6 separate regions of the Homo sapiens genome follow, and regions 1, 3, 4, 5 and 6 are each linked to region 2. The links are contacts of gene promoters, found by promoter capture Hi-C in blood cells and fetal thymus (Javierre and others, 2016). All regions are on one chromosome and are shown on one strand. Each heading gives the region's core, a stretch centred on a gene start or on the middle of the fragment in contact. The rest is flanking DNA. Distances are from core to core; before and after follow the strand shown. Region 1 overlaps LINC00707 (long intergenic non-protein coding RNA 707). Region 2 holds the start of SFMBT2 (Scm like with four mbt domains 2). Region 3 overlaps LOC105376387 (a long non-coding RNA gene). Region 4 overlaps LOC105376387 (a long non-coding RNA gene). Region 5 overlaps LINC00707 (long intergenic non-protein coding RNA 707). Region 6 overlaps LOC105376387 (a long non-coding RNA gene).

Region 1 (3,541 bases), core at 540-3,039, 600 kb before region 2:
GTAGACCGGAGCTGTACCTATTTGGCCATCTTGGCTCCTCCCCCAGAAAACTCTTCATAAAATAAACCTCTGATAACTCAGCTTCACTTTACATGCTATTAGAACATCATATCAGGTTAAGTTCTTTGGACAATTCCTTTAAGATTTATAATGATTGTATCCCATACACAGTGGTGTAGTTGGATACTTAATCATTGTCACTATACCAATTGAGTAATTTAGGGACAAAGCAGATGAGACTAGAAGTGTGGTAGAGAGGGCTTAATTATGTGGTCTGGTGGACTAAGCTGATTAAATCAACTAAATCATAGTCTCTTCTCCCTTTACATCTGAATACGAAGAAACCAGGCAAAGTTCTTTCCACTCTGAGAGCTGTATCTGCTCTCGATGTGACTGTGGGAACCAGGATGAAGTGATGAATACTGTTGCTTCATCTGCCATCGTAGGAACTGCTTTATTAATTCAGGAAATTAATCGCTCCTCTGGCTTCGACTACAGATTTAATGGTATGTCTTCTAAGTCTTTATACTCAGCTCTGCTCCTTCCCTAAAACTCCAACACTTCCAGCTTTCTGTTGAATTTCTCTACCTAGGTGTCCATCTGCCATTACCTCCAACTCAATCTGTCCAAAACCGAAATCCCACTCTCTGCTTGATTTTATGTAATGGAACTAACGTTCTTTCAATCATTCAAGCTGTAAAACCTGGTGTCATCTTTGACTATTCACCATTCTGATTTCCACATTCAATGAATGACTATGTTCTATAAGCCAGGAACACATTCATCTTTTCAACAACCACTGCCAACACATCAGTTTGGGCTGTTACCTCTTACCTGGACAAAGAGTGCAGCAGGCGGTGTGAGTGACATGGACTTAAGGCTCAGTTAGGGTTCTCCTGCCTCAGGGTAAAAATAAAAATGGTGTGGAGAAATGTGCCACGACCATGTTTTATGTCTTTGCCCCACCACCCACACATTTTAGTTCAGTTTTGCTAAATCATGTCTACCACCTGAGCTATTCCCAGCACCTCCCACTTCTTCTGAGTTCAGTTTCTTCATAATCCATGTCCACACTGCTGCCAGATTCATCTTTGTGAAGAGCTCTGATGACTCAAACCTCTACTCAGGATAGACTCACCCTAGCCAGCAAGGCTATTCAGAAGACAGTCTCTACCGTGGTACAAATATGAGCCACCATGGTCATTATCACAAGGGTGGGCTTCCATGAAATCCAAGGAAAATTTAGCCCTGTTCTCCACATCTTTCCTTCCTGGTAATTCCCGCTACCATTTCCACCTTAGATACTCAGGGACATGTTGTTTCCCTATAGACAAAGGCTTTCTGATACTCTTTCTGTTTTCTGTATCACCAGCCTCTCAGCGCACTTACACATTATTTCCAGATTTTTTTCTTTTTCAAACAGCTCTGAATATGACTGTCCTACTTGAAAACAAAGGTTCCATATGACCTAATTAAGGACAGATTTCCTTTCCAATCTTTCCCTCATTCCTTCGATGTACTCTGCACTTCACCCAAAGTTCCCGCATGTCCTCCTCTCGTCCTGTCGCATGCCACCAGGATTCTCCCACTCACCACCTGTCACAGAAACATGGAACTCTGTCTTCTTAAGGGGTTCTTTTTCCTCACAACAGCACTGGGAGTTAAACTCTATGGCCCTTTTCATGTTTATTTGTCCAGTTGTTAAATCCCTGAGGGCCTCAGTTCCTGCCCATGAGTTTATTCCCAGGGAGAGAAGAAACATTAAAAAGTACTTTTACACCCAACATTTCTAAATGGTCTACTGGTCTACATGGTCTTATTGTCCTCATATGTCATTGAGGAAACAGACAAAGAAATAAGTGATTTGGTGGAATTCAAACCCAGGCATCTAATTTAATAATCAACTTTTTTTCTTTTCTTTTCTTTTCTTTCTTTCTTCCTTCTTCTTCTTTTTTTTTTGTTTTTGTTTTTTGTTGTTGTTGTTGAGACAAGGTCTTGCTCTGTCTCCCAGGTTATGTAGCACAGTGGTGTGATGTTGGCTCACTGCAGCCTCAACATTCTGGAATCAAGCGATCCTCCCTCTTCCGCCTCCCGAGTAGCTGGAACTACAGGTGCATACGACCATGCCTGGCATTTTTTGTATTTTTGGTAAAGATGGGGTTTCACCATATTGCCAAGGCTGTTCTCAAACTTCTGGACTCAAGCAATCCTCCCACCTGGGCCTCCCAAAGTGCTGGGATTACAGGCATAAGCTACTGCACCCGGCCAATAATCAATTACTTTCTTCAATTATCTTACTGTGAGTTGTTTTTTAAATTCCCTTATGCCTTTTTCTAACTTTCCTTTCTAGGTCTAAATTCTTTGAGGTCAAGGGTAATATATTAAATATCAGAGCACCTGCTACAGTGTGTTGGCACAGAGTATTTGAAAAGTGAATGCTTGTTAAATTGAATCATATAGATTTGATTTGAATTTTGGTGACTTTTGATTATATGTCTTCTAAACTAGTCTTGATCTCTTCTGATCTTCTGTTCACTGCATACTTGCCCGAAATGTTTCTTCTAAATATTCTTAACCCTGATGTGAATTAGCTGAATATCTTTCTATAGTTGGTAGTTTGCCTAGCATCTCTGACTAAACTTACTCTTCGCAATTTTTCCTCTAAGTGGGCTGCTTTTTGTTTGCTTAATTACTTTGTGCACTTTGCTGTCCATCAATATCATATTCTATGAAAGCATCGACTAAGTAAATCCTAATATGATATATGGTGTAAATAATAGCACAAAAGCTACTATCACTCATTTCAGATTCTAAGAAACTTCCAGGGCTCTGGATTAGAGCTAAGATTGTCTGTAGAATCAAGCTGTCTCAGCACAAATTTTTAATAGAAACTACACAAGAGACTAATTTGGGTTCAAATGAAATACACATTTTAGATATACATCTAGTAGAATAAGTATTTGTTAACTCATCTCCCGATTTCTAATTGGTTGACCCAGCCTCAGGTGGACTTGGATTTATGATCTCCATAAAATGCATACTAAGTGAAATCTACCTAGTTTCAAAAATATTGTCAGAGATCACGTCATTTTTAAATTCTCTTGAATTGGCCTTACTTTAAGAACGATAATTCATAATGTGAGTGAGGGGTCACTGGACTGGGAGGTTATGTCATTGACTAAATAGAGCCAGAATCTGGGTATTGGAGCCAGAATTTGGCTAAATAGAGCCAGAAAGGCCTTGTGGGAAAGATGCCTGAATTCCAGCTTTGTGTCCCATTCTGCACCAGCTTTTTTTCAAGTTTGTTTTTAAAATGTGATTGGTGTTAACAAATCATCAGCAAACACAATTACAAACAAACATTCTTCCTAAGGGCAAGGAATATTGCAGTATTGTAAGTGTAGGCCAAGTAGTCAACATTTGTGATGAGCAAACTCTGACACTTCGGTGACCAAGTAGGAGGAAAGAGACAGTGTCAGCAGTAGAAGGCCAGAGAGAGAAGCAACTTAAAAGGGAGAATCATTGCTCTATGCCTCAACAT
Region 2 (3,614 bases), core at 142-2,641:
GAAAAAAAAAACCGGACAGCCCATTCCTTCTTTTTTTCCCCACTTAATTCGCTAAAGCGCTTCCTGGGGTAGCCAAAGAGAGTCGAAACTAAGGGGTGGAAACTTCAGCTGGGTTTTTTCCCACCTCAAAACCTTTATTTTCAGTTTTTAAAAGCCACCTTAGCCCGCCATATTGAAACTGGCACGGTTTCTAAAGACTCCTTCCCCGCAGTTGTGGCGCTTCCAAGAAAACACGAGTACGGATCAGGCTCTGGATGAGTGTCCGGCCACCGAGAATCAGCCACTTCCCACCCTCCAGGATCCCCCAGCTCCCTCCAGCCCCTTCCCACCGCCCCTGGTCAAAATCAATAAATACATCTCGCAGTTCCTACAGTTGCATTTTGGCGGATTTCTGCAAAACATACACACACATACACATACCCACGCACGCATATTAAAAAATAAACTCCAGAACCAGCTCAAGTCAGCAATTTTGAAAGGGGGTCGAATAAGAGGAGACAACCGGAAAGCCCCTAAGTGACAGGATATTACTTTAAAGAGAAAATAATGAACAAAAAGACCATCCTCGCTGGAGCACGCTCCAAAACTACTACTGCCAATTTTATTTCAGTTGCTCAGGCAAATGTTTCCAAGGGAGCGATTCCGAATGTCTGCACGATTTTTACCCCCATGCCGGTCTCCGATTCCCCGTCCTCACCATCTTTTTCTCCCACCCAAACCAAAAGAAAGGGGAGACCCCAGCGCGGAGGAGACGCGGGAGCGCGGGGTAGGTAGCAGCGGCGGCTGCGTCGCTAAAATGAGTGCAGAAACGAGGAAGGTGGGCGGCGGGAGGGGACAGGCTGCGCCCGGGGAAGGAGGACACTTTGCAACTCCGGACGGACTCCCGCACGGCTCGGCTTTTCCGAGCCCGGAGACGCAGGCGAAGGGGACCCGGGAAGCAAAAATGACAACCTGGAGCGCACAGAGGAGTTTGAAGCTTCGCTCAAGTGCAGTCGCTTTCTTCTCCTGCCCTTCTCTTTCGCTCCCCTGCACCCTCCCCAGCCTTCCCCCACCCGCCACCTCCAACCCCAGCTCCCTCAGGCTTCCTTCCTTTTTTTTTTTTTCCTTTTTTTTCCTAGGCTGGAAAAAGCCCCTGACCAGCGCACTCAACCTGCGGGCCGAAGGGCTGCTCTCCGGCCAGCCTGGGCGCCGGGGACAGCAGCCGGCGCGGCGTCCTACCTGGTGAAGTTCGTCCTGCCCTCGGCGTGGACCCAGGCCCCGGTCGCCGCCCGGGAGGGCACCGGCCTCGCTCGCTTGCTCGCTCGCCCGCCCTTGCCCGCTCGCTCCCCGCCCGCCGCCTCCCTCGCGCGCCCGCTCCGGTCCTCCGGCTCCCACTACAGCTCATTCCAATATGGCATCCTCTCTGTGCGCATGCTCGGCGCTCTTTTTTTTTTTTTTTTTTTTTTTTTTTTAAGATTTTGTGTGTGTGTGTATGTGTGTGCGTGCGCGTGCAGCGAACTCCTTCAACGACCTTTTCCAGCGCTTGCAAAATTTCTTAAGCCAATTAGCCTGCGGGACGTGATCGGCTCCTTCCCCAGCCAGCTCCGCGCCATTCCCTGCGCCTAAGCAGGCGGGCACCCCCAGGACCCTGGGACCTTCCACGCCCACGCGGCCTCCTCCCCACCGCGCTCCCCTTCCTCCTTTTTGTGAGCTCCCTCCATACATGATCTGCAGAAAGTTCCCATCGCGGGCGTTTCCGCACACCCCTCCGCAAGGACAACTGGGCAAACTCCCGTTTCCCTGGCTGCGGTTCGTGAGCTGGGTTTCCAATGGCTCAGTCGACCGTGTGCACAAACTTGCGCTTTATCCGCCGGGGATCGCTGGGAGCGGAGATAAATTCAATCCCCAGGGCAATCTTGGCCCCGCCCGCCCCACCCCATCCTGTGCTTAAATAGAGCCTTTCTTGAAGCTGCGAACATTTCCAGGCCCCTTGGGCAGGGCTGGAGGGGCCGAGGAGAGCTATTCGAGGGAAAGGTGCCCCGAGGGGCAGGAAATTAAGTTGGGGCTGCCCGGGCGAGCTGCCAGGTAGCCGTGCTCGCCACGGCGTCTCATGGGGCACCTAGCTAGTGGCGGGCCTCATAGGGCGGGAAAAGAATCGTCGCTCACACCCCAGCAAAACGTGGCCCTCGACGGTCCGTTGGAGAGCCCCGGCGGCCGTGAGCCCCGGGCAGGGCTGGACGTCTGCGGAGCCCTCGGGCACTTTGTCCCGGGCGCCTGGGGAGGAACGCGGAGCTCCCAGGGCCTTAGGTGCAACGGCTGCGCAGAGCCCAAACGAAATGTCCCCAGTGCGGAAAAGCCGGTGACGCCCTGGTAGCAAGACCAAGAGCTTCCGAAGAACGCTGCGCCCTTAACTAGGGGGCCTCGCAGAGATGCCTGTGTGGGCCTGCATTGTATATTTCTGCGAAATAGCGAATGGACACGTTTGCTCAGGGTTTTTATGGTTGCCAAAGGGGGTAAAATTACCCAGTCCCCCAAATCTGTGTCCCATGAATCCCTCTCATAGTACCCCTCTCCAGGGGGCCAAGAGGTCCTCCAGGTCCCCGTGGGTTCGCAGCTCCACCCGCCCTTCCTCGCCCTGCATCCCTAAGGAGAGGTGTCCGCTCTGAAGGGCTAGGGGCCAGCCATGGAGTGAGGGGACCGGGGCTGACCACGCGCGGCACAGACAGAGGTCCTCAGGCGGGCCCTCTCCTGGACGGTGGGGCCGGAGCTGATCTAGAAGAAATACGGAGGGACGTGCCGAGAAGCCGCTCTCCTTCGCCGCGACCCTGGAGAGCGCCTCTCCACCCAAAGGATCTGCCGAGCTGAGAGATCCAGGGCGGGCGTCCGCAGCCGTGAGGCCCCCTGCGCCGCCAGTATGGGAAGATCCTGCCTCCTTACACCTTGGAGAACGCTGGGCGACGACTAAAGCGCCTTCCGCCGGCCTGTCACTCCATGTGACACAGGAGCCACGTGAGACCCAGAAGAGTCCAGCGACTCGCCGCGCGGCGCACTTTAAACTCTAGCCTGAGTCTGCGACCCCTCCAGCTCTCCAGTCCCCAGCTGTTGGGGACATCAAGCCGGAGCCCTGGGCTCTCTGCCCTGTGGGTCGCTGAAAGCAGAGACTCCTCAAACCAACCGAACCGGGCGCATTAACCCTCTCGCCTGCACCCCGCTGCCTCCCGGTTGAGCCCCGAGGCGGCTCCAGGTAGAACCTGCTGGACTGACTGCGGCGTCCAGAAATCTGGAGTGTGGGCTCCAGACACTCTCCACGGTTTGGCCCCGGGTCTCAACACCCAAGTCGCCTCTTCTGGCTCCTTCACCACACAGCGGGGCCTGTGGAAAGGGAGGGGCCGAGAGACCCGTCGGCGCACCACTGTCCTCGAGGGGTCCCCACCCTGTGCACTGCTGAAGCGCAGGGCGCGCCGCGGCAGGAATGGCCCCGAGTGCGGATCCCCTGCCCTGAGCCTCCCACTCTTGGCCCGCGCTGCGCCTACCCAGTGGCCCTGGCCCCGCAGGGCGACAGCGGCTGCTCCCTCCCATTTGCGTCCCAGACCGCGCGGCCTCGCTTAGCTCCCGGGAGCCGACAGGCGCTTGCC
Region 3 (3,856 bases), core at 749-3,248, 560 kb before region 2:
AGAGCTATACCTATTTCCAGACAAAATAAAACAGAAATTTGCCACCGAAAAAAGAAAAAATCATAAAAGAAGCAATTGATTAACTGGACTTCATCAAAATTAAAAACTTCTGCTCTTTGAAACAGACTGTTATTAAAAAAAAAAGTAAGCTGCAGGCTGTCATTCAGGCTGGAATGCAGTGTGCAATCATGGGCCCCTGGGCTTAAGTGATCCTCCTGCCTCAGCCTCCTGAGTAGCTAGAAATAAAGGCCCAAGCCACTGCACCTGGCTAATATTTTTTTAAAAAATTTATAGAGATAGGGTCTTGCTATCTTGCCCAGCCTGGTCTCAAACACCTGGTTTCAAGCCATTCTCTCACTTTGGCCTCCCGCAGTGCTGGCATTCCAGGCATAAGCCACCACACTGGGCCTCTACTCTACTTTTCGATGTTTAGGTATGTTTAGATACACAAATACCTACCATTGTGTTAACAATTGCCCGTATATTCAGTAGAATCACATGCTGTACAGGTTTGTAGCCTAGGAAAAAAGTATGGCACACTGTTCAGTAAAAATTTGCAGGGTAAAATAAGCGAATAAAATCCCACTTTGTTGTTGTTGTTGTTTTCTATTATCCAAGAGAACTTTGAAATAGCTCCAGAAAACATATTTCTTATTCCAAACACATTCATCTTCATTTCGAAAGTAAAAAAACTAAAATACTAACTCAGAGAAAAATCAAATGTTTAATTTTGGAAAGTATAAAAATTTACCAAGATTATTAACAAGTAGTTACATACTTGATTTAAAATGCATGTTGTCCTTTAAGCTGCACAGACCAAAGAAGTCTTTTCCAAGCTTCTTGGTGCAGAACTATGCTGACTCAACTGAGTACTCACCCAGGCTTGGGGTCAATTCAAACCTTCCTTTAATTAAAAAAAAAAAATTTCTCCCTCCCTGAAGCAAGCTTCCTTCCATGCTGCTACTGTTATGTGAAGATGGAGCAGCCTCTTTCCAAAAATCCCATAAATCAGCAGCTCTTAGATTTCATGGCATCATGTTGATATTGCTTCTTGACTCTCTAAGGTTTAGCATTTTTTGATCACCTTTTCTTCTAAGAAAGAATCTCAGCTTTTTGGTAGTAAGTTGAGAGTTAAACTTCCGATTGACAGCTACTTAACTCATGTCCAAAAATGTTGAGATAAATGGTAGTTGAGACAGTCCAAGGAACAAGTTGAACTTTGTCATTAGATACTTGTGTCAAGCAGAGCATGAGAATGTAAACTCCTTGGTTTAAAATGATTTGGTCCTCATAGAAGCCCTTTCCCTGAACAAAGATTCAGGACCATGCTCTCAGCTCTTACCAAAGGCTGGTATAAGAAAAACCTTCGTGAAGTGCAGTTATTTATTATTTTTAAGTAAAGTTTATTTTTTCCGTATATGAGTAATTCATACTCATTATAGACAAATTGGAAAAATACAGAAAAGCAAAAGGAAGAAAAATTTTAAGATAGTCCCATTCCCCAAAACAATATGGTTCATTTCCACTCTCTCTTTGTTCTATGAAATTATTTTTAAAATCTTCCGGTAAGATAATAAACATAATTTACAAAGCATATGTTTTCTGGGAAAATAGTTCTGAGGACATGGTTTATGTTATGTCCCTAATAAGAGTCTACAGGATTTCTTGATAGAATATAAAATTGTCTCTTATAGCAAGTCAATATGGTTTCTTTTATCACACAAACTGCATAGAGCATTATCTTATTTCTCTATTATACTGGGTAACAAGAAATTCAGACAATTTCGTGCTCATTTTTAGTAATGTTCTCCCCTAATCTTCCTCTTCCCCCTCTCTTTCCATGTGAGTTCTGTTTTCTCTTTTATCTTTATTTTATCTACCATGCATATAAAATATAAATGAGCCCCTTTTTGTAAAAATCACTTACCAACTCCCTTTTGAGGAAAGTAAGACGCAAATAAATAGATTGGCAGTCTGGGAGAAGCACAGTAACTCTTTTACTTTTATTCTGGTGAAAATGCAAAGAATAAAACCTAATATTCACCAGAGGAGAAGGGACACACAGGGTGAGACAGAAAAACATACAGGGGCTGGGGACGGTGGCTCACGCTGTAATCAGAGCACTTTGGGGGCCAAGGTGGGCAGATCACTTAATGTCAGGAGTTTGAGATCAACCTGGCCAACATGGTGAAATCCCGTCTCTACTAAAAATACAAAATTTGTCAGGTGTGGTGGTGTGTTCCTGTATTCCCAGCTACTCAGGAGGCTGAGGCAGGAGAATTCCTTGATCCCGGGAGGTGGAGGTTGCAGTGAGCTGAGACAGCCTCACTGCACTCAGCCTGGGCCACAGAGCGAGACTCCATCTCAAATATATATATATATATATATATATATATTTTTTTTTTTTTTTTTGAGACATGGAGTGTCTACAAACTACAAAATTCAACCATAACACTAAGATCTTGCTGGGTACAAAAATGTACACACACAAAAATAAAATAATAAATGTGATGCACGGAAGATAAGCAGACTAATGTTTATTGGGATAATTTCGCTTACTAACCATGCTATATCCTGTTATCACTCACCTCAAACCCTACTGTCATCTAAAAGGGGAATCCCTTTCCTTGTAGGTGAAAAGGGATTCTCCTTTTATATGGCAGTAGGGTTTGAATGCATTCTTGGTTATTCTGAATGCACTCAAAATATCAAACTGTAGCCGTTTTGTTGCTCGTGAGTATCTCATGCTACTGTTGCCCTGAAAAGTCCATGCAGTATGGAGATGCTGAAGGGAACTCAGGCCACTTCGACAGGTCAGTTATATGGTAAGGTGGGAATGGGCAGAGAACGGGGATGACGTGGAAAATAATATAAATTTTAAAGACTCTAAGGGTAAAACTATTAAAAAGAGAAAATTCACAAGTTTGGAAAATAAAAAGGGAAATGAGTTTAATGCAAGTCATGGAATCTACTGGACTATCCTCTGCGAGAAGATTTAGGACGTTAGCTCATGGTTGTTGAGCTGGGACTGGCTCTGCAGAGAAGAGAGGAAGAAGCTTGGGATACTGTTGGAAGATTAGGGAGATCCTGGGAAGGCCGAGTGTGTTTTGATAAATGCAGTTTCAGCCTCACACATTGAAAGATCTGAGAAAATACAATAAATTGATAATATAATAGTAAAGATAATAGTCATAAAAATGACAGTGTTTTGCAATTAATGTGCTGCCTTTGTATTTGCTAACATTATTAAACCTTCAAAATCCTGATTGAGTAGGTGGAGCATATTATTATTATCCCCATTTTCAATATCAGGAAGTGAAGCTCATCGTTGGCCAAATGGCTTACCTGAAGTCACACAGTAAGTGACAGTATACCTCTCAGAAAATGTCCCAACAGGGAGGGAAAAAGCATGGCACACTGTTTAGTAAATATATGTAGGATGAAATGAATGAATAAAATCCTACTTTGTTGTTGTTGTTTTTTCTATTTCCATTATCCAAGAGAACTTTGAAATAGCTCCAAAGGCCGGGCACAGTGGCTCATGCCTGCAATCCCAGCACTTTGGAAGGCCGAGGTAGGCACATGACCTGAGGTCAGGCATTTGAGACCAGCCTGGCCAACACGGGGAAACCCCGTCTCTACTAAAAATACAAAACTTAGCTGGGTGAGATGATGTACGCCTGTAATCCCAGCTACTCAGGAGGCTGAGGCAGGAGAATTGCTTGAACCTGGGAGGTGGAGGTTGCAGTGAGCTGACATCGCACCACTGCTCCAGCTTGGGCAAAAAGAGCGAAACTCCGTCTCGGAAAAAAAAAAAAATAGCTTCAGAAAATATATTTCTTATTCTGAGCAAATG
Region 4 (3,863 bases), core at 278-2,777, 530 kb before region 2:
AAAGCTTGAAAGAATTTACTGAATAGGCTGGGCGTGGGGGCTCAAGCCTGTAATCCCAGCACTTTGGGAGGCTGAGGCAGGTGGATCACGAGGCCAGGAGTTTGAGACCAGCCTGGCCAACATGGCAAAACCCTGTCTCTACTAAAAACACAAAAATTAGCTGGACCTGGTGGTGTACGCCTGTAATCCCAGCTACTTGGGAGGCTGAGGCAGGAGAATTGCTTGAACCTGGGAGGCGGAGGTTGCAGTGAGCCAAGATCAAGCCATTGCACTCCAGCCTGGGCAACAGAGTGACTCTGTCTTGGAAAACTAAATAAATAAAATAAAATAAATGAAACACAATATTTATCCATTAGCATCTGTTTGTAGGTGTGTAGTAAAATATCGGTTAACATTAATTTCATATTGAAATTTCAGAAGCCTTTTGAGATTGCTATTAAATCATTTAAAGCAGCTCCTCTTTTCTTGGTAAAACCCTTTCATTTGAAGTGTCTGCTATTACATTATTGGACCTAGATTTCATTGCTATAAAAGATCTTTAATTTGGGTACATTTGTAAGCTGTACATATTATTGATTTATATCTCATACTCATTTTTCCAGTGATTATTACCAAAATATCATTCTGTGTAAAGCTATTTGCAGTTTTGACAAACCTTGGAAGAATTACGAGCAAACTGTTGAGATGCAATCCTTTGCATCTAGGATAGGCGCTCCACCGGTTACCAAGGTTCTTCTTCTAGCATTGAAATTAGTGTGTACACAGTGGTCTCCCCAGGTGGGCTTCTCTAAGGTTCTCAGCACTTATCCTGCTCTTGAAGTTAGCAGTTGTTTGATTGTCCAAGTAGTAAAAATGCATATTGATACTGAAGCTGGTTTGTGTTCCTGCTCTCTTTTCTTCTAAAATTGTAGGTTACAATGTTAGACTTTGTCCCTTCTCTTTTTTTCTTATTTCTTCATTCATTCAACAAACAATCACTGAGCACCTTCTTTGTGCCAAACACCAATCTCGACTCCAGGGATACTGCACTGAACCATCCAGATCTCAGCTGTGAATTGCTGTCAGGAACATTGTGCTTTGAGAATGAATTCATTACATTACTAGCAGAGTTCATCACCACACGCATCACTACAGCAGAGCTTAATTATCATTAATGTGATATTAACATTTGTGTATTTATTCATTACACACACAATTGGCAATATTATCTTTCCTAGATAAAATACTTTAACAAGTCCAATTACTAAGCTGCTGAAAGGACATACATAAATGTTTGTAAATAAATAGAGGTTTGGAAGATACAAGATGATTGTGACAAATGTCTGTCCCTGAAAGATGATAATCATTGAAAAGCATTACATTTATTTTGAGGAAACTGGTTTTTTTCTCAACAGAAAAAAACATATTTGTAGCAGCTGGAATAAGAGGTAGGCATAGTATGAGAATAATACCTAATTTCATAGCAAGTCCGTTTTATTTCTTATGATTTGCTGTTCCATTGTGATTACAGTTTGTTGACTAGTGGCCCCTTCAACCTTTTTATGATTTGTTCTTACAACCAATCATTCTTCTCTTTCTTCTACAGTGTTGATTCCTCTTCCTCATGATAGCATCTCATTTTGATCTAGTTATCTGTTTGAGCTTTGCTCTACTATTTTCTTAGCATTTTCTCTTAACATTTCTTTGTTCTTACATCAGCTGTTTTGCATACATCTTAAATGTGGTTAGGTAAATAAATGCACAGAGACCTGTCAGTTTTTTGCCAACAGCCAGGCACCTGTTCATGTCAGCAATTGTCAACTAATGTACTGTATTTTTTGTTTTTTGAGACAGGTTCTTGCTTTGTTGCTGGAATGCAGTGGCGTGATCATGGCTCACTGCAGCCTTGACCTCCTGGGCTTAAGCCATCCTCCTGCCTCAGCCTCCTGAGTAGCTGGGACCACAGATGCCTGCCTGCCACACACGGGCTAAATTTTTATGTTTTGTAGATACAAGATCTCATTATGTTTCCTAGGTTGGTCCCAAACTCCTGGGCTCAAGTGATCCTCCCGCTTCAACATTCCAAAGTGCTGGGATTACAGGAATGAGCCACTGCATCCAGCCCACTGTAATTTTCACATACTCACCAATGCTGGCTCTCATTGATCATATGAAATTATGAAATCACGTGAAAACAATGCCTAGTTCAGTCCAAGGGAAGCAGATACCACTGTTTTATAGAAAGAGATAATAGTAAACCTATAATCATGTCCAAGGAAGTGATGTACACAGTATTAGCTAGATGAGTGTTTTCTGTTACAGGTACCATTTCTGGATTTGACGGGTATATTAGTCATGCGAAATAGTCTTTGCTCCAGATATAAAGGAAAGAATAGAAGGCAACATGATGCGGTAGAAAATAATGAGCTATGGAAACAGATAGGCGTGAATTTAAATTTCTGCTTTACTTCTTCCTACTATTAAGATTGGACCCACTGAGCTTCAATATTTTTACCTGTAATATGAAGATAATGAAACAAATGTCACAGAGTATTACATACTAGTTTCTAACTTTTTTCTTCCTTCGAATCAAAAAAGAAACCACATGTGTTTAAAATATGCACCACTCAACATTCTAAGATGGAAATAGCTTAAAGTACCAAATTTGAGATTGATGTATATTGGGGGATGGAGATTATTAAATTTCCTTGTTCAGATGAAACATAATTAACATAATCAGTTTGGAACTTTTTTCATGCCTAATTCACTTTCTAGTCCAAAAATAATGCTGTGCAAATTATTGGCACGTTGTTTCATTTTCATGCCTAATTTAAAAAAAAAAATCTTTTCCTTGTGCTCAAATGCCTATTTAGTTCCATTTGGGCCATTTTCTTTGAACTAAATGCAAATGAGGGAGGTTGCATGTATTTCATAATCTCCCTTTAATCAAGATCACTATGAAGCATCAGCCCCCTGGGTGACGGGTGACATAAATCATATTAACTTAATTCTGTGTGTTTCATTAAAGGATTTAGTATTTTTATGAACCAGAATATCTGGGTCACTGCCATAGAAGCTTCAATCAAGCTGCAGATCTTATGGAGTCAATGATGTGTTGCTTATTTGATGAGATGAAGATGAAGTGCCTACTCCCATCTCATACTGGCCTCATTAACACATGGTTGCTTTAAGAGTTCATGAGTTTTGGCCAGGTGCGGTGGCTCATGCCTGTAATCCCAGCATTTTGGGAGGCTGAGGCAGGCAGATCACAAGGTCAGGAGATCGAGACCATCCTGGCTAAAAAATACCCCCCCACCAAAAAAAAAAAAAATTAGCCAGGCATGGTGGCAGGCTCCTGTAGTCCCAGCTACTCAGGAGGCTGAGGCAGGAGAATGGCGTGAACCCGGGAGGTGGAGCTAGCAGTGAGCCGAGATTGCGCCAGTGCACTCCAGCCTGGGCAACAGAGTGAGACTCCATCTCAAAAAAAAAAAAAAAGTTCACGAGTTTAGAAGAGACAGTTGGGTCCTGGCCTCAGGAAACAAAGAAGAAATCCAGATCTTATACAATGTGCTGGACATAAAAGTATAACAATTTTTGATTCTCTTCCCCTTCACCATTGAAATCTATGGTTTCTCTATATGACTGTTTTCTCAACAATCCAAAAAGGCAAGGTTGGCAGCATGCAATCTGCTGAAGAATCCTGCCTAAATACCCTTTTCCACTTCACACTATCTACCGTGGAGTCGTTTTGTCTCTATTTTATTCCTGAATGAATAAACTATGACATCCCAAACCTGATCATTTGTCTATACTTCCAGTCAACCACTTCTGCGCAATATCTAAATATTTATGTTTCTTTGTCAAATGACAGGACCAAGAATGTT
Region 5 (3,679 bases), core at 337-2,836, 620 kb before region 2:
AATGCAGTAGACAGATGAAATAAAGACTTGGAGATTAGATGAACTGCTCCAATCAGAGCCTGGATGCAATGCCCTGTTGCCCTCTCTTTCAGATCTATCCAAAGTTAACTTGACTCCATCGACTGGCCCTTAATTTCTGCAGTTCTCTCAGTTCTGGGAATAACCTTATGATTGTTCTTCAGGTGGAGACCCTAGAAAACCTCCAGAGTTTGCTTTGATCCTCATACTCCACCTCCCAAGGAGGAATAAATTTGGAAGTGTATAATAAATCAAAGATAAATTTGGAAGCACATATGAAAAAGCTTTTATGGGACTTCTGCTTTTGAGTAAGATGGAGATATTGGTGACAGACTAATCCTGAAAATCAGAACAACTAGATGAAACAGATAAAATCCAAAAATTATCTGTTTTAAAGGTACCAAGGAGCTGTTGAAGCAATGTAGGTAGAGAGGCTGAAAGACAGCAAAGGGGAGAATCTGCACCAGCCTTTTATCCTGGGGCACTGTGGGTTCACTGTGAGTTCTGGGTGAGAACGAGAAGCTTGGCATCTAAACTCTACCCAAACCCCTTCTCAGCGGGCAGGATGCAGAGGTTTCAGCAGAGCTCAGGGAAGGTAGCCAGGATGTGCAACACAATAGGGCCTTCAACACAGGACCAGCTTCCCCCTCAAGACATTTGCTGAATTCTGAAGCTGCAAGGGAAGGACATAGGAAAGCTAAGCTGAGTACATCAGAAGAGCTGGGTCGAGTTTTCTGCAGTGTGACGATGCCTTGGAGACCCAGGTTAGAGTTCAGTTCCCAGGAGAGGCAGTGTTCCTGGGATGCACCAGCCTCAGTCAAAGCCCTGGAAGTTCATGTTGCCGGAAGAGGATCAGCCCAGAGGAGGCTTACCCAAACTGCAAATTAAAGGCAAAATAGTGAAAGCTTTCCCTCAAGTGGTGGAAAGAAATAAGGGTGCCTACTGTTTACCACTTCTAACCTACATGGTCCTGGAAGTCCAGGCCAGGGCAATAATGCAAGCCAACGTATAAAGGGCAGAATCATTGGAAAGGAAGAAAAAACTTACTAGACACAGATGAACTGTCTCTATATGAAGAAAAATCCAAAAGAATCTGCAAACAACTTAAATTTAATGTCTCTTTACGCAGTCTCCGCATGTAAGGTCAGTATAAAAAAATCACCTCTATATCTATAGACCTGCAACACAGAGAAAATAAAATCTTGCAATTGCAGGATTTGCAACAGCATCGAGGAATATTAAATACTTAAATAGAAATTTTAAAGAGGTATATGAGATTTGTGTTCTAAAGCCACAAAGCATCTCTGAGAGGGAACTCAAAGGGAGATCTAAATAAGTAGATATAGTAAATAAGTAGATCTAGGACATTTGTCAATCAGAAGACTCACTTGTAAACATGTCGACTCTTCCTACATGTATCCCCAGCCTCATGCAATCCCAGGAGATTACATGTGTGTGTATTTGTAAATTGACTCAAGTGATTACAAGATTTATATGAAAATGCAGTGAGCCAAAAATAGCCAGGAAATCTTAAGGAATAAGAGCGGAGAGCAGAGGAAGGCTTCATGGGCCGGGTAGGGGGGCGGGGAGCCTTGAGCTAAGCCGTTGGGTGCATGGGTGGTAAGTGGAATTTTGTTAGGGACTAGAACCATAACAAGTTTGTTGGGGTAACCCTAACACCTATCCTAATGCCTGCCTGATGCCTAACAAATATTCAATAAATATTGGTTAAATGTACATATGAATGAATGGACAGATGCTTGAGATAAGAGTATGTCAGGTTAAAAGGACAGTAGAAGCAACAGTAAAGAAACACGAAACTATCTTACAGTGAGGCATCAAATGTGTCCTAAGTGCGTATGTGAGCTGCAGAAGAAAGGGAGGCTAGAATATTCAGACAGGGCAGTGTTGTGCAGAGGTCTGAAGTAGGCTTGTAGCATTTGGACCTTACTCTTTAGGCATCTAACATTTTGGAACAATGTAAAATGAGTGATAGGTTGGGAGATGAATTGGGCCAGTGACAGGGGAGCCACATGACACCCACCCAGTCACTTCCCTGAAGGACACCCTCTTTGCTTTCTATATCCAGCACCAGCAATAAAATTGGAATTCTTTGCTAAGGTCATTGTTCATATATTTAATATAGAAATCTCCCCAAATGTTAAAAGCTGACAGACACTTAATTTAAAAGCCTAAGTACTCTCTGTCTGAGCCCTGACTATGCCAAAAGCAAAGCTTTTTGTGCTATCAAGAATTTGATGGGATTTCCTTTTTGCATTTCCTTTTCAAAAACCATTAGAACAGCCAGCACCATGCTCCTCTGGAGACCCTTACATTCTACCTTCATGAATTTTCTTGGTTAGGAACAGAGTGCATGAACTCTTTGGGTCTCTCTGTTAGGATGGGTTTCAGCTAACTGTACTTTAGTACAGTTAGTACCAGTGCTTTAATACACACAAGCTTACACTCACAACGAAGTCCAGAGCAAAGCAGTCTGTGATGATTATGGCAGTTTCATGCTGTCATCTCCTATGAGACAGCCCTGCCAGAAGGGCTGCTCACATCCTGATGGCTAGAACTGGTTACATGGCTGTGCTGGTTGCAACAAAAGCTGGAAAATGAAGTGTATTGATACTCCAAAAGAAGCAGAGTTTCGGTAATACAGAAGAATATTGGTGGACATTGAATAGGTCACCAGCAGTCATTGCTACATGATCCAGTCTTCCTTTCTAAAACAAGAACAATCTTGTAGAAAGCGGGAACTTTGAGACTTTCTTAGCTGAGAAATTTGTTGTTATTGTTGCTTTACAATCTCTCCTCCTCTCCTAAGAAGTTGTCCAAGGAAACTGGAGGTTCTTTGTTTCTTAAGCTGGTTGAAGATATAGTTTGCAAACCTGAACAGAACAAAATAACTATTCACCAGAAGAAGAAGAAAAAAAAAAGGCAGGTGGAGGTGGGAAGGAATGTAGGCAAGATCAACCAAATCAATAAAAGAACTAATACCCATAAAGTAAAATGAGCAATGGTCTTGAATACATATTTCACAGAAGAATACAAATGGCTTCAAATTATGGTAAAATTGGATACCAGATAACTGTGCTTTTAAAAATCAAACTGGGAAATATTTAAATTATGATAATACTCAGTACTAGTGAGCTTGTGGCTTGGGAGAATAATTAGTAGAGCTTTTATGAAAAATCATTAAATGTATATATAAAGAGTCTTAGTAAAATGTTTGTTATTAGATCAGAAATTTACCATCTAAAGAAACTTACCGAATATGTGATGTTTTCACAGATCATGAAATTGAAGGGTACAAAAAAAGAACTTCTATTTTTCTGTGACTAAATGTCGATTTCAAGTTCTCATACCTCCTGGAGTTAAAAAATAAGATCCAGTCAATTTCAGTGAAAACCTGTTACTTCTGCTTTTCAGTGATTTGGGCTTTACACTCACAGATCTGAGAGTCTCTCTTGCCCCCCTGGTAACACATTTCAGAGCTGGAGAAAGAGAGGGAGAGGATGGGGGTTTGGACATGGCCCATGTTCATCTTCCCAGTATTCTCTGACAGTCAGCATTCTCCCTGCTGACTTGGGCGGATATGCCATGTCCAGTTGGGTCCTCACCATTCCTGGTGGCCTCACCTGAGCTGAAACAGCAT
Region 6 (4,008 bases), core at 1,146-3,645, 510 kb before region 2:
TTTATGGTAAAACCTTGTAGCAAGCTAGGAATAAAGGGCAGCTCTTCAATTTAACAAAGTACATCTATGAAAAACCTACAACTAACAACTTGTTAAAGACTGAATGCTTCCTCCCTGGGATCAGAAGCAAGGAAAAGACATCTTCTCTTACCACTCCTATTCAACACTGTGCTAGAGGTTTTGCCCAATAAGGTTAAAAAAGAATTAAAATGTACACAGATTTGAAAGAAAGCTGTCTTCATTTGCAGATTATATGACTGCATATGTAGATAATCCTAAGAAATCTATAAAAATAGCTACAAGGCTGAGGCGGGTGGATCACTTGAGGTCAGGAGTTCAAGACCAGCCTGGGCAACATGGTGAAACCCCGTCTCTACTAAAAATACAAAAATTAGCTGGGCATGGAGGCACGCACCTGTAATCCCAGCTAATCGAGAGGCTGGGGCAGGAGAATCACTTGAACCTGGGAGGCAGAAGTTGCAGTGAGCTGAGATCATGCCATTGCACTCCAGCCTGGGTGAAAGAGGGAGACTCCATCTCAAAAAAAAAACACAGAATAAAAATAAATTAAAAATTAGCTACAAAAATAATAAGTACATTGAGAAAGCTTACAAAATGCAAGGTCAATACACAAAATTTAACTATATTTCAAAACACTAGCAATGGACAATTCAAAAAAGAAATTTTAAAAACTAATACCATTTACAATAGCATAAAAATATTAAAATTATTTAATAAAATATGTATAAAACCTAAATACTGAAAACCAAAAAACGTTGCTGAAATAAATTAAAGAAATAAACCATCTCCGTATTAGTCCATTTTCACACTGCTATAAAGAAACACCTGAGACTGGGTGATTTATAAGGGAAAAGGCTTAATTAACTCACAGTTCCACACGGCTGGGAGGCTTCAGGAAACTTAAAATCAAGGCAGAAGGCTTAGGGGAAGCAGGCACCTCTTACATGGTGGCAGGAGAGAAAGACAGATAGCACAGGAGAAAATCCCATTTATAAAACCATCAGATCCTGTGAGAACTCACTCACTATCATGAGAATAGCATAGGAGAAACCGCCCCCATGATCCAATCACCTCCCACCAGGTCTCTCCCTCCACGTGTGGGGATTACAATTTGAGATAAGATTTGGGTGGGGACACAGCGCCAAACCACATCAATCCTCATGGATTGAAAGACTCAGTATTATTAAAATATCAGTTATCTCTAAATTGATCTATATATTCAAAGCCATCTTAATGAATTTCTTACAGGCTTCCCTTAAAAACGACAAACTAATTCTAAAATGCAAATGCAAAGAATGTAGAATACCCAAAATAATTTTGAAAAAGGAGAGTAATGTTGGAGGACTCATATTACCTGACTTCAAGAAGTACCAAAAAATACGGTAATTAAGAAAATGTGATATTAACTTAATAATGGGCATGTTATTTTGGAACTAAAAACAGACTCCAGAAATAAAACCATACATATATAGTTAGTTGGCTTTTCTGTCTAAGAAACCAAGCTAATGTAATAGGGGAAGGATAACCTTTAATAAGTGGTGCTAAAACAAAAAAAAATGAAAATGAATTTCAACTCATACTTCACACCATTCACAAAGTTATTTCAAAATGAATCACAGTTGATAATGTATTGGCTAATACTAGAAAACTTCAAAGAGAAAATGTAAGTGATCACATTTACAACCTTGTAATAGACAAAGATTTCTCAAAACACAAAAAGAGCAAGAACTATAATAGAAAAAAAATAATACTTTGGACTCCATCAAAATTAAAACCTTCTGGTCTTTGGAAGATATCATAGATACCATCAACAAAATGACAAGGCAAGCCACAGACTAGAAGAAAATATTAGCAATATACATCTGACAAGGGATTTACATCCACTATTTATAAAGGATTCCACTAACTCAATGATAATCCAGTTAAAAAGTGGGCAGGATTTGAACTGGCACTTCATGAAAGAAGACATATGAATGGCCAGTAAGTGCGTGAAAAGATGCCCAATATCACTAGCCATCAGCAAATGCAAATTTGAATCACATTGAGATACGACTACACACCCACTGGGTGGGCTAGAACTTAAAAGGCTGATGATAGCAAGTGTTGACAAAGATATGGAACAACTGGACCGCTCATAGATTGCTTTGGATGTATAAACTGTTACGACTTTGGCATCTTCTTGTGAAATTAAACATGCATTTACTGCACAATTCAATAATTCCTTTCCTAGGTATTTATCTAAGGGAAATAAAAACACATGTCCACAAAAAATCACTTGTATACAGATGTTCGTTGCAACTTACTTTTAAGGCTAAAACTCAGAACAACCTAAATGTCCATTTGCAAATGAGTGGTAGGCAAATTGCGTATATCTGTGTAATGCAATATTATCCAGTAATAAAAAGAAATAACTACTGATGCTCTCAACATGGATGTGTGTCAAAAATGTTATGCAGAGTAAATGAATACAGACTCAAAAGAGTACATGTTGTATGACTCTGTATATATAAAAGTAAAGAATTATCAAAAGGCCTCTATAGTGACAGCAAACAAATTAGTGATTGTCTGGGACTAGGACAAAACGACATGGGGTAACTTTTTAGAAGGACAAAAATATTCTATATCTTTATTGGCTCGTGGTTACATTGCGTGTACGTTTGTTAACTCTTGCGGAACATACCTGTAAAGTGAGTGTATTTTTTATACTGTATGTACATAATAATTTCATCAAATTGATTTTAAAAAACAAAAATAGTATATCATTTTGCAACTATCAACCTGACAAAAAATTTAAGATGTGAGGACGTGAGGACAGGATGCTTTCATACACATCAGGTAGGAAAATGAATGAGTGAAAACCTTCTATTAGAGAAGGGTGCAACACTTAGCCAAATCCTTAACAATGGATGTATTCTGTTTAATAATTTTTTTTTCATTCCTTCCTAGGACTAAATTCTAAGTAAACAATTAAAATGTACAAAGGCTTAGCTATGAGAGTGCTTGTCTAAATGTTATCATTGAAAGTATTGAAAATAAACTATCCCAAAATAGGAGCTTGGTTAAGTAAATTATATTCATGCAATAAAGTGTCATGCAGTCACTAAAAAGGATGGGAAATTATATCTGTTGATATCAAAATACATTCATGATATCTGATTAAATGTTTAAAAGACACATTTATAAAACTGTATCATACACTCTTACTTTTGTTCAAATGCAATAAAAAGGCCAGGAAATGCCAGGAGCTATTATTGGTAGTTTTACCTAGATGATAGGACTGTGATGAGGTTTTCTTTCTCTTTCTCCAGTTTATTTGCATGTTTCCCTTTATTTCAAATGCACACGTAATGTTTTTGTAAAGACAAAATTAGAAGTGTATGTTGTTATAGCAATTATTGTTCTTAAAAGGTAAAGTAAAGGGTAGCCTGAGAGGCGAGGTGCTGTGTGGAACATTATTAAGGTAAGCACTGGGGTGTGACAGAGGCTTGGACTTTAGTCTCTGTCATGGACAGATACTAGACCCAGGTGGGGAGCCCTTTTTGGCTTCCTTCATTGCCATCTGACTTCCTACTACTTCAGGCCCTCATGATATGAATTATTTTATGCCTTTTCTCAACCTATGGACTCTTCTTGATAAATCAACTTTGAAAGAAAGCTGCTGCAGGGACAGCAACCAACATTAATGATGACAGTCAAGTGAATTTGGCGAAATGATTTCATTTCCTGGGAACGTACACTCCTCCACGATACTTTAAACTCCATGAAGGGAACAACTATCTACCATAAAATATAAGAGCCTGACACCTTCAGCTGGTATAAGGTGGTCCTTGGCAGAGCTCAGCACGCGGTGGATAACAGCACTTAAACATTCACCGCAATAAAATACTCTTGTTGGAATTCCTTGAGACCTTTTCAAATGCCTCATGGCCAAATACCCAGCAAGTATCCTTGAAATAATTTGAGCACTAGAACTGAGAATTGATGTGT

The links. The method cuts DNA at HindIII sites, captures the fragments that hold promoters and counts their contacts. A CHiCAGO score of 5 or more calls a contact.
Region 1: a contact is called between a fragment that was not itself captured here and the fragment with the promoter of SFMBT2 in region 2, in 1 of 17 cell types (M2 macrophages). The highest score is 8.0, in M2 macrophages.
Region 3: a contact is called between a fragment that was not itself captured here and the fragment with the promoter of SFMBT2 in region 2, in 5 of 17 cell types (erythroblasts, M2 macrophages, M0 macrophages and 2 more). The highest score is 14.1, in erythroblasts.
Region 4: a fragment that was not itself captured here is called in contact with the fragment with the promoter of SFMBT2 in region 2 in 1 of 17 cell types (M2 macrophages); the score reaches 6.3 in M2 macrophages.
Region 5: a fragment that was not itself captured here is called in contact with the fragment with the promoter of SFMBT2 in region 2 in 4 of 17 cell types (M2 macrophages, M0 macrophages, M1 macrophages and 1 more); the score reaches 10.5 in M2 macrophages.
Region 6: a fragment that was not itself captured here is called in contact with the fragment with the promoter of SFMBT2 in region 2 in 4 of 17 cell types (erythroblasts, megakaryocytes, total CD8 T cells and 1 more); the score reaches 8.8 in erythroblasts.

The regions. Positions count from the first base shown.
Region 1 is chr10:6,810,258-6,813,798 of GRCh38, forward strand. All of the region lies in intron 2 of LINC00707 (long intergenic non-protein coding RNA 707), which reads left to right. Among named protein-coding and RNA genes, the nearest start is that of LINC00707, 32 kb to the left of the region's middle. The HindIII fragment of the contact is 7,286 bases long and covers 1-3,541 here.
Region 2 is chr10:7,409,643-7,413,256 of GRCh38, forward strand. SFMBT2 (Scm like with four mbt domains 2) reads right to left here and starts at 1,392. Exons shown (of 21, transcript NM_001387889.1): 1 at 1,219-1,392. RefSeq lists a silencer at 1,266-1,405 and enhancers at 1,641-2,561, 2,562-3,481. The HindIII fragment of the contact is 4,872 bases long and covers 975-3,614 here.
Region 3 is chr10:6,850,332-6,854,187 of GRCh38, forward strand. The region is part of intron 3 of LOC105376387 (a long non-coding RNA gene); the gene reads right to left. Among named protein-coding and RNA genes, the nearest start is that of LINC00707, 73 kb to the left of the region's middle. The HindIII fragment of the contact is 2,111 bases long and covers 944-3,054 here.
Region 4 is chr10:6,879,196-6,883,058 of GRCh38, forward strand. The region is part of intron 3 of LOC105376387 (a long non-coding RNA gene); the gene reads right to left. Among named protein-coding and RNA genes, the nearest start is that of LINC00707, 100 kb to the left of the region's middle. The HindIII fragment of the contact is 3,051 bases long and covers 3-3,053 here.
Region 5 is chr10:6,789,163-6,792,841 of GRCh38, forward strand. The region is part of intron 2 of LINC00707 (long intergenic non-protein coding RNA 707); the gene reads left to right. Among named protein-coding and RNA genes, the nearest start is that of LINC00707, 11 kb to the left of the region's middle. The HindIII fragment of the contact is 1,330 bases long and covers 922-2,251 here.
Region 6 is chr10:6,895,983-6,899,990 of GRCh38, forward strand. All of the region lies in intron 3 of LOC105376387 (a long non-coding RNA gene), which reads right to left. Among named protein-coding and RNA genes, the nearest start is that of LINC00707, 120 kb to the left of the region's middle. The HindIII fragment of the contact is 3,581 bases long and covers 606-4,008 here.